Linked DNA regions of Homo sapiens: region 2 is linked to region 1. Evidence: promoter capture Hi-C in 16 types of primary human blood cells and fetal thymus (Javierre and others, 2016). All regions are on one chromosome and are shown on one strand. The core of a region is centred on a gene start or on the middle of the fragment in contact, and the rest is flanking DNA. Distances in the headings are between cores, read along the strand shown. Region 1 holds the start of AKAIN1 (A-kinase anchor inhibitor 1). Region 2 overlaps EPB41L3 (erythrocyte membrane protein band 4.1 like 3).

Region 1 (3,071 bases), core at 352-2,851:
CCTTAACTCTCAGGGTAATTAGGAGATCAAATGAGATAGCAGCATGAAACTGCTTTGTAAAGTGTTAAGTGCTGTATAAATGCAGCAAAGAGCTGTTTTCCAACTTCCTTGCTCCAGTGTTGATTGAATGTCCTTTGCTATATGGAACAATTTCCTCCCTTGAGTTATTTAGGATGGGCATGGGAAGAGCTCCTGGGCATTCCTTTAAGGCGTTCCTCTAAGAACCACTGCCTGTGGTAAAGCCAGAGCCTACAGAAACTCATCCCTCCCTCCCCAGCTAGCATTCTGAGGGGGAGGGGGAGGGGACTGACTTGCTCTTCTCAAGTTTTGCTAATTGAATTTTTTGAAGAAAAGACTCAATTCTTCCCTTTAAAAAAAAATGCATTACGCCTTTTCTCCCCAGCCATCTGAAGCCCATGACCACAGCAAATACATGCCAATCTTTCAAGTTAAAGACCCCAGGAACAAAGCTAGAGAGTTCTAGGCCCCTCCAGCCTTCCCCACTCCCTGTTTTCCACAGCAGTCTTTAACGAAATCAGACCCTAAAATGCGTGAGAGAGAAATACTTTGGATCTACCCCTAGAGACAGCGTCGGACGTTCACAACGACCACGCTTTTCCCCGCTTCCTCGATTAGCCTGGCCTCCCTTGCTCCAGTGGGGCGGACTCAAATGCGCACGCACGCACACGCCGCCAAGCCGGTCAACCGCAGACAAATCTGACTCTTCGCCAACTAGTAGCCACGGAGAGCAGCAAAGGGACCAAGGTCCTTCACCGCCTGCTCCAAAAAGACACGGCAACCTCCAGCGGCGCCGCAGTAGCTGCCTCTGTGCTGCAGCCTCCGGTCGGAGTTTCAGGTCTAATTCCTTAAGAAGTATCGCTCCTCTGCCCTTCGTCCTACTCCCCTTGGCTTCGCCCACTTCGCCTCCTTCTCCTCGGGAGGCCAGGAGGACCCGGGTCACTTTGCCAATTCTGCGGAGGGGGAAGTAGCAGTGAGGGAGATTCCCACGCAAGTAGCCCGAAGCCCACTACTCTTTGCCCCACCTCTCCACTCTCTTGCCCGTGTAGGTGCCGGTGCTGCTGGCGAAAGTCCCAGTTCTTAAGGCTCCTGAGCTCGGAAGGGGTGTGGAGGAGCCAGATGGGAAGAGAAGCAGCGGGACGAGGGCGAGGAAGGGCTGGAGATTGTTAGAGGACAGATGGGGCGGGACTGGGGAGAGGGGCGAAGGCGACGCGCCGAGGCACTCCTCCGCCCCATGAGCACAGACAGTAACTCCGAAACGCGCAGATGGGCCGTAAGGTAAAGAGGCCTTTTTTCCCTCTCCTCTCCGTCCTCTACCCTGCTCCCCTCCTAGACACTTGGTGAAAAAGCAAGGTGCGGTGTACCTGGAGCGAACACCATGATTTCTTCCAGCCGCTACGCCCCCAGATTAAGAGAGAAAGACAGGCAGACGGAGGATGGGAAGAAGGCCGGACTTGGCGGGGTCCGGTGCAGGAGGGCGCGCTGGGCGGGCGGCGGGCGGGGCGGTCAGCACCCCGGACAGCTCCCGCCGCTAGATCCTGGGGCCGCAGCTCCAGCCGCCGCCGCGCGCTCTGCCTCCACAATGCGGCCACAGCGGCGGCGGGAGGAGGAGGGTGAATCCCCGCTCAGTCCATCCCTCATTCCTGTGCCAGCTCGGCGACGTACACTGCTGCTTAGGGAGCAAAGCACTTCCACCGCTTTCACGCGACGAAGGTCGGAAGAGCAAGAGAGAGAAAGGTAAACTTCCCGGCAGGGGACAGTGAATTGCTTTTAATTACCTGCTGTGGCTCGTCGCCGTGGATATTGGACTGACATTTAAGATAGATTTGTCAAAAAAAAAAAACTCTAAGAGCTTTCTTTACTCTCGAGGATGACTCTGAGTTCTCCGAGTTGGGCTGGCTCGAATAGAGGGGCGGGTCTGTCAAGTTAATAGGTCCTGGAGGTCCGTGAGTCCTCTCTCGCGAGTCCCAGTCCTCTGCTAACGTCAGGAAGAGAGCAAGAGGAAGGACACAGTGACTATGGAGCGCTCGAGGAGGGCGCTACTATCAGGTTCCGCTCCCAGGTGGCAAATCCGGCTCTGAAAGCTCCTAAGCTTGAAGGTCCTCAAGGTCATCACTTTAGAAAAAGCAAGGCCGGCCAGGGCACAGGAAAGATAACGCATACACCCTTCACAAGGAAGAGCCAACAGAGCCCCCTGCAAGTGTGAGAACAGCCCTGAGATCAATCAAGAAACATCAGTTCTTCCCCTATCCTCACCCAGCTGAAAACTGTCTGCATGCCCCGCTCATACACCCAGTTCTACCTTAAAGGTACTGGGACTGCCTTATGCTCACTTCATCCTCCTAATCATTGCTCACTTTAGGTATCTATTCCCTAATAATGTCTGTGCAGTGTGAACAGCCCACACTAGATGTCACCCAGCTTGAAACAGGTCCATGTGGGTTACAAACCCAAAGCTAAAGCCACCCAGAATCCTCCAGCCTCTCCCCTATTTTTCCAGCTAAATAAGGTTTTCCAAGAACAAAGGTAATCAAGGTCATCTCCAGTGTTTTATGGGGTTTCTTCACTTGCAACTATCCCTGGAAAATGTAACTATTCTGAAAATTAAGTATTTCCTGATAATTGGTTGATGGCAATAAGTTCTACAGTCTTTTGGCAAATATAAAGCATCCAAATAGACTGATTGGCACTGTTTTTTTTTTAAAGCCATCCGATAGACTGAAAATGCAAATAGTTTTACAGCTTTTGAACTACAGTTTGCATGAAGGCATATGGGCAGCCTCAACATAATACAATCAGTACTGCTGTTAGCACCTGGCTCAACACAGGCTTGAACATATGGGGCCTACCCCAGCAGCAGCAAGATGAAAGTCAGCTGATGGGCAGGATAAAGCGTGTGCATGACAGGATAGAGTTCTCCCATTTTGCCAAGTTTCTCCAATGATGCTTCACTCTGTCTTCTTTTCTTCATCCCACGGGAAGTGTAAAACAGTATTTAAAATAATTTTGGAATGAAAGGTGTTTTTCTTGTAACACACTCAAAAGGGCTGTCT
Region 2 (3,071 bases), core at 353-2,852, 200 kb after region 1:
ATGGAAGAAATCTGTTTTATTTTTTTTGCTATCGTCCAAAATATATTATTCATTTGAGTAAAATGAGTATTTTTTATATTTCTCTTTTAAGAGATGCCACTCATCAATTTGTTTCTTAAACCGATGTTAGAAAACTTACTAATATATGAAATCTCTTAAACATTTTATCACATCACCAAGTTGTGCAAGTCGCTCGACTGCTGCATTCAGCATTCAAAGCCCTCTCAGAAACGCTCATGGCCCCATGAGATCTTGCATGGCAGGTGACTATGCATGACAAGTCTGTGCTCACATAGATGATATAGTCTGCTCATGATGCTGGCCAAACAGTCACTGGAAAGGTATGTGCTTTCTACAGGACCACAAGACTGCATTTTTTTTGCCTCCTTCTGAGACAGTGCTACGCTAGGGAGAAAAATCATCCCAAAGAATACAGGAAATATAAGACATCCAAAAAGAAAGTGAGTGCTCAGCTTTCAAATTAAAAAAACAAAACTAAAGACAAAAGCATAAACAGGTTACAATCAAACACAGTTGAAGAGAAAGCTTACGACGGGATAATGTTGCCATCAGAAGGAGAAAGGGGTATATATTATTTCCCTAGTATTTGGAACACACAAATTGAGCCTCTCAGAGCAAAACTGCCTTTGTTCCAATTAGGCCACATGGCAAGTAAAATCAAATTTGCCATTACAAATTTGGATAATCAAAGAGTGCAGGCCATGGAATAAAAGGGAACACCAGGAAGACCACACAAGCATAGAAGCATAGACTCTGCTCTTCCTTTATCCTCTAACTGGCAGTGCATGCAAAAACTCCACAAGAATGGAAGCTCCAAATGTGAGACAAACCCATAAACCAATTCTCCATCCTCTTGGTAACCAGCCCAACAAATGCCAGTGAGAGAACAGAGGAAAGGAGGGATCAGGTGAAGGATGAGAGGGAAGTGCCCCATGCCTCATGCCAGCCTAGGCAAGCCTAGAGAATCGGCATCACCTCTTACCTCTGGTCAATCCTCTCCATCTTCTGGTGTGATCTCTGTCTCTTTATGGACCACTACTTTGGTCACTGACATGTCAGGGTGCTGCTCTTTGGCCTCTTTAATTGCCTGAGCCAGCGCCTATCCCCGGGAAATCACAGAAGGGCAGAAACAAAAAGGAGGTGGAACATGCATGATCAGTGGTGAGGTGGAGACTTATGAGCTAGATCTATATCCACAATTTACAAATGAGGTACAATGATTACAAAAGGAATCATAAATCATATATTGGAAAGTTAATTCGGAATTTTCTTCGGAATACATGCTGGACTAGAGGAATAGCATTGAAACTGTAGGACCAACAGGTTTTTCTTTGTTTCTCTGCCAGGGTATTTACCGTCTCACACACACTACCTGGTCATGGTCAATGTCTGCATCCCCCGTGATGACTATTCGCTTCTCAATTCTTGTCTCTGAAATGCCCCCTTTCACAGTCTGCAAGACACGTAGAGAAGCTTTATGAATTTACTCACTGGGAGAAACCATCATGGTTCAGTAGGGGGAAATGGCCGAAGATGCTGACATCATTCACTCTTCGAGAATTGAAATTAGAGTTCTATGGCACTTATTTCACATTTTTAATTCCAGAGGTGAGGACGGAATGGAGGCCCTTGGGTCTGGATGGCCCATGTTTCTGGAACACTACCACATGCCAAGCACTGGAGTAAGCATTAAGCTTAGGATATCAGAATGTATATTCCTAAAGGGGAACTCGCACGTGAGGACAAGTGCATCGTAAATCTAGGGGCTGTAAAAGCTCCCCTTGCAGCTATCCCGGCGTCCTGAGCTTCAAGCCACCTTGTGCTTGTGCAGCCCAACCTGTGAGGAGTTCTGAACAAGCACCTTCCTCCAGCTCGCTCTCAAGGAATCCTCTTCTCGGTTCTCACTCCACTTACTTTGGTGATGTGCGTAGTGGTGGTGGTACTGGTGGTTTCAGATGTGATCGTCTGTGCACTCATCAGCACGCCTGGCTCCAGATCTGTGCCTGGATCGACCTAAAGCAGCAGAGGCATAGACCCCTCATCCAGGTGCTCACATCTGCTCTTCAGAAGTTGGCTACGTTATTTAAGGCATTACGACAATTTCACTATCTCCTATTATGCAATCATTATGCTCTTCAGAGTCTGAGCGCTGCTCCCAAGAATAAGTACTAAGTGCAACCACAGGTAACTGTCATTAAAAAAACTAAGGTTTCAGAAATGTGAGTGGTGGATGGGTGAGTGAATATTTTTCTTTCTCTGTGGCTAGGGAAACAGGTTTCTGAGCCTTTTTCTACACTTCAAGACACATAAAGACTTGGTTAAGTCATCTGCTGCTCCCTGATCACTAATAAAATGACCATTATTGCATCACTTTTAATAGAAATGGTCTGGCTGCTGGATCCTCTAAGTCTCATGAATTAAATATCGTGCAGTTCTATGTAAACACACTAGGCCATAGAGGGGTGAAATAAGCAGCCAGGGCTCTGGTCTTCACAGAATATCTCACCTGTGATGATTCATATGTGATGGTTTTGGTTTCGGTGTGAACTACTGGCACTTCCTTCGTGGAAATTTCTAGCTTTACTCCTCCCGGTGAAACACTGCCAAAACTGATGGTTTCCGTCTTCACCGTTGAGGACTGTGCCAAAGGGGAGTAAGCAGAGTGGCTGTTATAGTTTGCATGAACACATTGTTTTCTTCCTTTTCCTCTCTTGGTGGTTATAAGCACAGGTTAGTATGCTATAAATGTTTATGTAGAGAGTAAGCTGGGGAATGAGGCATACAACATGCACATGTCAGTCTCCTGGACTCTCATAGCACTTTTATATGAAATGCTCCAAGTAAAGCAAAACATTTTGAAGGCAATAAAAAAAAGTTTTCTATTTAATAACTTCTTAGAAAGAAGAAACTAATAATGAGACATTAACTCCCCAAATACTTCAGGAATCTCAATAAAAGAGGATAAAGAATAAAGTTCTGGCATTTAGGACCCGGGTAAACATGGTTTTGGTGCTTCTGGAAAAGTGCACTGATAAGAAATAAATGTATCA

The links. The method cuts DNA at HindIII sites, captures the fragments that hold promoters and counts their contacts. A CHiCAGO score of 5 or more calls a contact.
Region 2: a fragment that was not itself captured here is called in contact with the fragment with the promoter of AKAIN1 in region 1 in 1 of 17 cell types (total CD8 T cells); the score reaches 5.3 in total CD8 T cells.

What each region holds. Positions count from the first base shown.
Region 1 is chr18:5,195,656-5,198,726 of GRCh38, forward strand. It overlaps AKAIN1 (A-kinase anchor inhibitor 1), which reads right to left and starts at 1,602. Exons shown (of 2, transcript NM_001145194.2): 1 at 1,383-1,602. The coding sequence starts at 1,398. The HindIII fragment of the contact is 4,568 bases long and covers 1-2,108 here.
Region 2 is chr18:5,393,674-5,396,744 of GRCh38, forward strand. EPB41L3 (erythrocyte membrane protein band 4.1 like 3) reads right to left here. Exons shown (of 23, transcript NM_012307.5): 19 at 2,528-2,659; 20 at 1,936-2,034; 21 at 1,394-1,474; 22 at 1,004-1,120. The coding sequence ends at 1,010. Among named protein-coding and RNA genes, the nearest start is that of ZBTB14, 99 kb to the left of the region's middle. RefSeq lists an enhancer at 1,760-2,959. The HindIII fragment of the contact is 221 bases long and covers 1,493-1,713 here.